Linked DNA regions of Homo sapiens: region 2 is linked to region 1. Evidence: promoter capture Hi-C in human tissues and cell types (Jung and others, 2019). All regions are on one chromosome and are shown on one strand. Each heading gives the region's core, a stretch centred on a gene start or on the middle of the fragment in contact. The rest is flanking DNA. Distances are from core to core; before and after follow the strand shown.

What was found. Contacts are between HindIII fragments. The study calls those that stand out against the background at their distance.
Region 2: a contact is called between a fragment that was not itself captured here and the fragment with the promoter of TWIST1 in region 1, in 1 of the 25 tissues and cell types used here (hippocampus).

What each region holds. Positions count from the first base shown.
Region 1 is chr7:19,115,161-19,120,271 of GRCh38, forward strand. It overlaps TWIST1 (twist family bHLH transcription factor 1), which reads right to left and starts at 2,476. Exons shown (of 2, transcript NM_000474.4): 1 at 1,511-2,476; 2 at 308-971. The coding sequence starts at 2,161. The coding sequence ends at 1,553. RefSeq lists enhancers at 1,483-1,742, 1,766-2,549, 3,623-4,486. The HindIII fragment of the contact is 7,370 bases long and covers 1-5,111 here.
Region 2 is chr7:19,166,055-19,170,905 of GRCh38, forward strand. No RefSeq gene overlaps it. Among named protein-coding and RNA genes, the nearest start is that of FERD3L, 23 kb to the left of the region's middle. The HindIII fragment of the contact is 3,931 bases long and covers 283-4,213 here.

The sequences.
Region 1 (5,111 bases), core at 1,226-3,725:
ACTGTTTTAACAACTATCACCTCAAAATAAAAAGGAGGTGAATAGCAAATTTGTTAAGTTTTTGCTGTTTGGAGACAGTAAGAGATGAAGAGATGCTACTAAGCCCTCTGAATACCAAACTGGAATAATAATAAAGCTGTCTTTTAAAATAACATGCTTGTGCCTGTCAGTAGCTGCTTTATTTGAGTTTTTCATTGCTTTGTTTATATTAGTGCCCCCTCCCTCCTGGGTGCCTCTAGAATTAAACAAGCAGGTATTTACCACCAACTTAATCTTTAGTTTTAAAAATATAGACCAAACTCTAAGGTTCTCTAAATTTTTTATATTTATTTATTGCAGAAAAATATACAAAGATATTTACAAAACAATCATAAAAATATGAATGCATTTAGACACCGGATCTATTTGCATTTTACCATGGGTCCTCAATAAATAAATAGAATGTTGTTTTTTGTATTTTAAGTTTTTTTTTGTTTTTCCCCTCAGAGGAAGGATGAAAAAAAGAATTAACTGACTATGGTTTTGCAGGCCAGTTTGATCCCAGTATTTTTATTTCTAAAGGTGTTCTTATAGTTCCTCTGATTGTTACCATTTTAAAATAGAGAAAGTCCATAGTGATGCCTTTCCTTTCAGTGGCTGATTGGCACGACCTCTTGAGAATGCATGCATGAAAAAAATAAAAATAAAAACATTCTTCGTCAAAAAAAAAAAAAAAAAAAACACAAACAACTGTTCAGACTTCTATCAGAATGCAGAGGTGTGAGGATGGTGCCGCTGCCCGTCTGGGAATCACTGTCCACGGGCCTGTCTCGCTTTCTCTTTTAAAAGTGCGCCCCACGCCCTGTTTCTTTGAATTTGGATTTTGCTCTTCTAATTTCCAAGAAAATCTTTGGCATATATTTTTATTTTTAGTTATCCAGCTCCAGAGTCTCTAGACTGTCCATTTTCTCCTTCTCTGGAAACAATGACATCTGCAAAAACCCAGAGGGGGGGGGGGGAGTCGGTTATTGTTTAGGTCTCTGCGGCTGTTTTCTAAGACTAGTGAGCACTGTTCTTATCACCACCACTGAGAAATTAAGCTGAACAACCTGGAAGGATTTCAGCCCAAGGGCAAGAGGAAGTGGGTGGGTGGAAAGGAGGAGGAGGTGGAATTTGTTTTAAAACATTTGTTTTAAGGAGAACAAAAATTGAAAGCCGAAAGAAAGGGTGGCGCTGACAAAACGGTCCTTACCCGTGACCCTGGGTGTCTCTGTCTCCCCTCCTGTCACGCACACTCACGCGCACACACACCCCTCACCAGGGCGCATCCCCCTGGAGACTGCTCTCCCTAGCGGGGTCAGACCGGCCTTCCGGGGACGCTGGGGGCGCGAGGCAACGGTGCCAAGTGAGGTGGGAAGGCTGAGCGGAGAGTGGGAGAGGGGAGGAAATCGAGGTGGACTGGGAACCGCGGCCTGGCCGGCCTGCCGTCTGCCACCTGAGAGGCGAAGGGGTGCAGCGGCGCGGTCCTTACCTAGGTCTCCGGCCCTGCTGAGGGGGTGGGGGGCTCCGCCTGCTAGTGGGACGCGGACATGGACCAGGCCCCCTCCATCCTCCAGACCGAGAAGGCGTAGCTGAGCCGCTCGTGAGCCACATAGCTGCAGCTTGCCATCTTGGAGTCCAGCTCGTCGCTCTGGAGGACCTGGTAGAGGAAGTCGATGTACCTGGCCGCCAGCTTGAGGGTCTGAATCTTGCTCAGCTTGTCCGAGGGCAGCGTGGGGATGATCTTCCGCAGCGCGGCGAACGCCTCGTTCAGCGACTGGGTGCGCTGGCGCTCCCGCACGTTGGCCATGACCCGCTGCGTCTGCAGCTCCTCGTAAGACTGCGGACTCCCGCCGCCGCTGCTGCTGCCGCCGCCGCCGCCCGCGCCGCCGCCGCCGCCACAGCCCGCAGACTTCTTGCCGCGCTTGCCCTGGGCCGGGCTGCCCGGCTCGTCGCCGCCTCCGACGCCCCCACCCGCGGCTCCGCCGGGCCCCGCGCCGCCGCCCGCGCTGCGCCTGCTGCTGCGCCGCTTGCGTCCCCCGCGCTTGCCGCTCGGCGGCTGCTGCCGGTCTGGCTCTTCCTCGCTGTTGCTCAGGCTGTCGTCGGCCGGCGAGACTGGCGAGCTGGACACGTCCTGCATCATCTCTCGAGCGGCGACGCGTGGCCTCGCGGGCCCGGGGCAGAGGAGAAGAGCGGGGCGCCTCAGCCCGCCAGCTTCCCCCGCGCGCGGCGCCGGCCCGGGCGATGCGGCCCGCGGAGGAGAGAGCAGGAGGACGGACGGGAGGGACCTCCGCGGGGAGGGCGCGCGGGGGAGGCGGGGAGGGAGGCGGGAGGGGGAGGGGACGGTGTGGATGGCCCCGAGGTCCAAAAAGAAAGCGCCCAACGGCTGGACGCACACCCCGCCAGGCCTCCTGGAAACGGTGCCGGTGCTGCAGAGCCCGCGAGGTGTCTGGGAGTTGGGCGAGAGCTGCAGACTTGGAGGCTCTTATACCTCCGTGCAGGCGGAAAGTTTGGGGGCAGCAGTGTCATTGGCCTGACGTGAGGAGGAGGGACTTTTCGAAGTTTTATAGGAAAGTTTCCGCTTTCCAGTCCCCCTCCCCCGTCCCACCTCCCTTCCTCGGGGTCTAACAATTCGTCCTCCCAAACCATTCAAAAACGACCTGGCCCGGGCGGCCGGCCCCTCCACCCGCCTCCTAGCCGCCCTCCCCCTTCCCTCCCCGTCGCCTTCCTCCGGCGGGCGCGGGGCGATTTCCTTCCCCGCCGGAGCGTGCGGGCAGCGCCCCCGAACCCTAGCGCAGCCCAGGAAGCGGTCGGAGGAGACTGTCCTGGCCGCGGTGGCAGCCCCATCCGGAGTGGCTGTGACAGCAGCAATGGCAACAGCTTCTACACAGTGGGTGATGTCTCATCTCGCCCAAGAGCCCTCTAGGTCCGTGGGGCCGATTTGGGATTGCTGGGGCTGGGGGGGTGGTGTGGCGCGGGGTGGGGGGGCATGCCAAGAAAAGTGTCAACCGCGGAGCCCACCCAATGGTCAGGTAGACGAACCCCTTGGAGTTCCAAAGGCCAAACCGCGGCGGCCCAGCCCGGAGGTCCTGGGCGTTTCTGAAGACGTGGCCGCGCCGCGGGGGCTGAGGATTTGCGTCCCGGCCTGCTCTCTCGCCCTTCTGGGCCCTCCTTTCCCCTCTACAACGACCCAGTCTGACGCTCCCCAACATCCAAAGGACTACGCCTCGGAAGGTGCTCGAAAGAGGCAGAAGTTCACTCTTCGGTGGAAGGAAACCCAGTCCATGGGAAAGGCAGCAGAGCCAGAGGGGGGCAGCGCAGCGCCTTTGCTGCGGCCCTAACAGCTGGCAATGCCAACCCAAGGGAGAGACCCTGTGGCCATTTCATCCCCACCCCCAAATTAGGCTCCGCATTGTGACCTTGAAAGGCCAGCTTGTAAGAGAGTGAAGTGGGAATTTGATAGCGCCTAGACATAGGGGCTGCCCGCTCTGAGACCCCCCCCGCCCCAGCCCCCACTATCTAGGGCATCCAGTGGACAATTAGGCTTCGTGAGCCCCAATTCCAAATGCTTGGATACGCTAACATTTTAAGCATTTCTGTCTGTAAGTTAAAACGAAGAGCCCCAAAGAGGGTGTTAATGTAGATCCTGGCAAACTGGAAGCAGCAAAGTTGGTGAACCAGAAAGGAAGTCGCCTTGGATAAGAAGCCCATCTTTTGCAATGCCATACTTGTTTCCTTTTTGAAATGAATTGAGGTAAAATAACCGTTTCAGGTCCATCCCTTACATGGCAAAGTAAAAAGCTGGAGTCAGTACACAGTGTTGGGGTGGGGGCAGCGTTTGGGGGCGACGAGTTTTGTGCACCGCGCTGGAGTACCCTGCACATAAGGTCCGCTCATGGGCTTCTCAGTACGGACTCGCCGGCGGGAACAATTAATTGAGCAAAGCGCCCCTTTCTGGGCTGGAGCAAGGTTCGCGGCTGCAGATATCTCAAGCTGAAGGCAAGAGCCCAGGCGAGGCGCAGGCAGGCCACGTGGCTGTTCCCTGCTGAGACTCGCAGCTTTGGTCTTGGAAACCTCAGGGTGTGGAGCTGCTTGGGCCGACTGAAGGGTTCAGCTTTTTGGGAGAAGTGAGGGCGAGTGTTATTTCTCCAGCGAGGTGTAAACAAGACTGTGCTTTCATGGGAGGGACAAATTGCAGAGTTGATCCCTTACCATTTTTACAGAAATACTCAGAAAGTGACTACAGCTTGTCAACTGGCCTGTTTAGTGAGCCGCTGCCTTACTGTAAAATTGTCTGAAAATCAGATTCGACTTGACCTCCACTTAATTTCAGTAGCACTCTAGCAGTTCTCAAAACAGTCACCCCTGCACCCTTGCGTTTGCATCTTCCGCTACAGGATTTTATCTCTTGGAAGCGCTTAGAGAATGCGGCAGAAATTCTGCCCCACTCTCCACCAAGTGTTCTTTTTGTAAATCTGAATTTACAGTATTCTGCAATTCTTATTTAGAACGTGGCTGCAGAAATCTCGAAACCTTTTCCACTTCAGCTATTTTTTTAAAGATAAATCTTATTTTTGTTTTGTTCTTTTTTTCTCTTTTCTCAAAAATAAATAAAGAGATCGAATGATTGGACTCTTTCCTTTGTGGCCACGGATAAGTAAGACAGGAAAGTGTGGGTAAAGTGTAAAGGAAATCTTACCTGACCAAGGGGAATTTGGGAAGGGGAGGGGAGCGGACAAGCTAGAGGAGAAACCAAGTCCACAGCAGCGCAGCAGCCAGGGGTCATTAGCCAGTCCATCTTGCAAAGTCATCAGTCTCAAAGACTGGTTCTTAAACAAGTGAGCCCAGCCCTTTTCCCGGCACTAAACTTCTAGCTGATGAAGAGCTCCTGGCCATTGGGTACAGGGATCCCCGCAAGGCTCAGGCGACGCTCTGATGCCAGAATACTGAGAGGGGAATTCAAAATGAACACCTAACCAGAACCATCCTGCCCATGGACTCTTTCAGCCACAGTCACAATTGATGACTAGTTCTAAGAAGAAATGGCTCTTGAACTGTTCCGGGGAGTGGAGGATGAGACGACTTTTGAGTTC
Region 2 (4,851 bases), core at 998-3,497, 51 kb after region 1:
TGATAGGCAAAGCTTCCCTTAAGCTACTTCTGTAGCTCTCCTGAGTTGATGAGAGGTGAAATTACTCAGCAGAATGTGTGGGGTGCTACCAAGATTAATAGTTGCTAACTGAAAGGTTTGGAGAATGTGACTTCTATTGACTTGAGAATGGATCTGGGTTCTTGAAGTCTAAACCTGGAAATTCTCAAAACCTTATAAGCTGTTATCAGTTTAGTTATCTGGCCCATGATCTAATTATGCATTTCTTATATTGTCTAGTTTTGTGTCACCTGCAATTCAGTAAGATTGCTTTGGACCCTGTTGTTTAGATTATGTTTGTAACACCCAATGCAGATAGAATTTTGTGGAATCCAGTTTGTACTTGCCTTAATTGATTTTGGTAACTCTGAAAAAGGCTTTCAAAGAAAAATTTTAAATAAAATTTTATAGTGAATTACACATACTGAACATGTTTTTAAAAATATCTTGATTACATTTATCATCAATATGAAATGTAATGCAATTCTCATCCTAAATATTGATGATATTTAATGTAATTCCATTATTTTGAAAGCTTGGAAAGTCTCTATTTGTGGTGAACAATTAAATGTAGGACCAATGGTTTTAGTAAATAGACTAAAAAATATGAAAACCACATAACCCAAGTAGTTATATAATACTAAACAAACTTTCTGAAACATATTTTTAGGGCTATATTCAGTAAAAAATACATGGAATCAGCAGTTTTTCCATGGATTATTTTTTCTGATGGCTTAATAGTCTGGTCTTTGCATGACTGAAATTATAGTTGGAGTACTGGAATTTACATTGCAGTAAAATTCCCTTCCTTTGCTGTTCAATGGGTATGGCTTTTAATTAGCTGATGGCTTTTAGTTTTCCTAATGTTATAAAGATTATTCAGTTATTATATATAAAGTACATAAATAATCGTATTTTAAGCCACATAGAACAAAATTAATTACGATTTTTAAAAATTGAAAAGTAATAATATATTTATTTCACATTAAACATGAAATCAATATTATTATATAACCTTGCTCACATAGACAGTATTAGGCCTTAACAATCAATAGTGAGATTCTATCTAACTTTTAACAGTTTGGTGGGGCAGTTCTTACTAGTCTATAATTGTTAGCCCTTTTTAAAAAGACCCCTTTTAAAGCCCTTTTAAAATCTTTTTTACAGATTTGTTAAGCAGGTGATTTTTAATTGAATAACATTGCTTACCTAAATTCAAGTGATAAGGTTAAAATATGCTTCTATTTTGTAGGTTAGCTTGTACTCATTCATGCTACTGGAGATCTAGACTAGCAGTTTGTTAGGAACAAACTTTGTTTTCAGATATCACTATTCTAATAATGACTAAACTGTACACTTTGGTGTTATCGTTAATATCACATTGGCCTTTGCCAGACATATCTATTTCGTCTAAAGACTAGTTTGCCAATTTTACTCCTAACTTTTGTTTGTTTTTGTTTTTGTCATATCTATCTCTTCCTCTCCATTCTTTTCTACAGCTGTAGTTTGGCACTTAAACTATCTTTCAATGGGACAAGAATGCTAACCTCTCAGGTAGACTTTCAGACTTTTCCCAGAAAAATATTTGAGTCATGGTAGAAAGAATCATATTTCAATGCCATTTTGATGTGCCAGTTCAAATACTTCATCTGTCTCTTGAAGCTTGACCTGATTTTTAATTCTTAATTTTATTAAAATATAATTTAATGTTTTGTCATTGTTTTCAAGGTTTCCAACTACTTGCACTCTCCCTATCTTCTCTAGGTATATACTCTTTAGCAGCACTATCTAATAAAAATATAATGTAAGTCATATATGTAATTAAAGTTTTTCTTCACATATACCCTGTAATAATCTGAGTCTAATCAAGTACAGAAATCACACAGTAACTTAAATAGGGGAAGTTTAATATAAAGAATTATTAAGCTAAGATAAAACTAGGAAGATTTAAAAAGAACTCTAAAAGGTATCCTAGAGCTGAGGAAGAGTAGTCAAGGAAGGATAACCTTGAAAGTGGGGGACCTCTTTCAGGCTGAGGTCCATACTCCCTGGAAAAAATTATAATTTCAGCTCACTGGACAGCAGACAATTTGCTAGATTACCTGGGCAAGAGTGATGGTCTACAGTTGCTGAGCAGCAAGGAACAATCCTCGAGGGTGCAATTGTGACAAGCTGAGGCTAGTAGGTGGGTATTCAGAAAGGGTTGGGGCACTCTTGTGGGTGTGGTGTCTGTATCAGAAGGGTTATGGGAAGGTGATGAGGGCCTGTGCACCCTGGATACATAGTTAGGGATGAGCACCAACAAATAAATGTCCTCAAGCACCCACATGTGGAGTGATTGTTTATCAGGAACAAGATAAAACCCCAAAGCTCAGCAGTAAGAACCGGGAAGAGAAGTCTTCTGCATCCTGCAATGTCCCTCTAGCACCTGCAACTGACAAAGCTTAAAATCATATTGCCTATGAAGGAGAAATGTTTAAGAATACAGTTCATTATCACAGAGCATGTACATAAGGGTGACTTTGGGACTCAGATGCAATAAATTGATAATGGACACAGCCATATTAGAAAAACTCAGGTGAAATAAATAAATATAATATTGAATGCAATTTCACAATGCATTATTTCAGCATTTAACCAATACAGAATTGTTAATGAGATATTTTACTTTTTTAATACTAAGTATTCAAAATTCAATGTATATTTTACACCTACAACATAACTTGGACACCAAATTTTCATTGTATATATTTGATGTATATTTAAATTTCATAAAATGTATAGTTGAAAAGGTAGATTCATATACTCAAATTATGTCACATTTACTTACCAGTTTTCCAATAACTTAATTGAGAACCCCAAATCATTTTTATTAACATTCAAATGCATATTGATAAAACTGATTCAGTTATTGGAGGAATTGATAGAACTTTAAAACAAAAGTATATTAATTTCAAGATGGTATCTGTCCAAGTTAAGTAAATTCACTAAATCTTCAATAACTTCACATTATTAACATTAAATTCAAAAGGGTTTGGTAAAATTGAAAATTATGAATTTATCAATATCGACAAAATGTTCTTCAAAATTTCTTGCAGTTTTTCAATTTACATAATGCTATCAAACACAATTAAAGTTTTGCATTTAGATCCATGTTAGATAAGTGAATAAAAGCATTATTTTTGATTATAAGATGAAGTCTGAATTTTAACATGAATTATCATATCTGTTTAGCTAAGTCACAAATAAGCTTTTCCTTTCCTTGGAGGTTCAAATTTAGCTTATTCGTATGCCATTTAATATGGCTTATAATTTGATAAAAAAGAAGCCCATCAGAATTTTAAATAAATTATGTTAGCTTGAATTAAAAGGAACAGAGGAATTTTATAACAAGATGTATCTAGGTCCTTAACTTTCTGTAGACATGAAGCAGACAAAGTTATTTAGCTCTACACACAGGTGAAGATAGAGCCATGTGTCATGGTAAGCCACTCTCAGGCAACTCAGTCGGCTTTAATTAAGTAACTTTAATGTGTTTAGCTTTGTAATAGATTTGTCATTACTATGAACCTTCCTTCCCTCCTTCTCCCTTTTTGAATTGGAGCACCCGTTGAAGTTTTCCTGTCTCTTTTCCACCATTGTATGTGAACAGATGCCTTGTTTCCTCATATTGAGGAGAACCATTCTCAAGGAACTTCTTCCAAGGAACTGTGCCTAGACTCATCTCTACTTAGACCTGATGTAAATGAAATTCTCAACTTGTAGTTGATGCAATAATGAAAGGAGGCTGTTAGGGGTCTTGAAATGGGTGAAATTCTTTTGTACATGGAGGGATGTGAGTTTCTGTGGCCAGTAGCTAGGCTGTGATAGTTAGTCTCCAGAGATCCACAAATTATTATTCTCCTCCCTGGATGTACATGCCTCTCTTCCCATTAAGAGGTGGAGCTTATGTTCCCTTCCCATTGAACTTGGGTTGGGACATAATTCCAATGGAATGTAGAAGAAGTGATGGTCTAGATTGCAAAGACCAGGATATAAAAGGCCTGAGAGCTTCTTTTTCCTTCTTAAAATTCAGCTTCAATGCTGTGAGCAAGCCCATGCTGTTACATCAAGATACACAATTTGAGTGTAATTGAGCCCAGCTGATGTTCCAGGAGATGGTTGGCACCAATTTGTTGGTTATGTGAGTGAACCAATATTGAAGTAAATACTCAAGCCTTAGTTAAGACACCCCAGCTGATGCCCCATGGAGTGGAGGCAAGTTGTCTTCTCTGAGGTCTGCCCAAATTGCAAACTCATGAGCGAACAATTGAGTTCTTTTTAATTCACCAAACTTTGGTGTAATTTTTAAAGCAATAATAAATAACCAAACACAATGCTATATATTATTTTTTGGATATATACCCTCATACAACAGTTATATGTGTATCTGTATATATCTATATCTATAGATCTGTAATATCTATATCTATATCCATCCATGTCTCTGTCTATGTCTGTATCTATATTTATATATATCTATTTATATATCTATCTATATGTAATAGACACAGAGAGATGCCACCCAGATTCCACTTTAAAGAGATTTTGCTGCCCAACTGCAAGGAATATCAGCAGAGAGCCTCCAGTTGTTAGATCCTTCACAGCAGTGGTCTCCAACCTTTTTGGTACCAGGGACCAGTTTCATGGAACGCAGCTTTTCTGTGGACCAGGCATAGGACAGATGGTTTTGGGATGATTCAAGCACTTTACATTTATTGTGCACATTATTTCTATTATTATTACATTGTAATATATAATGAGATTTCTATATTGTTCTATTATATTCTGCTA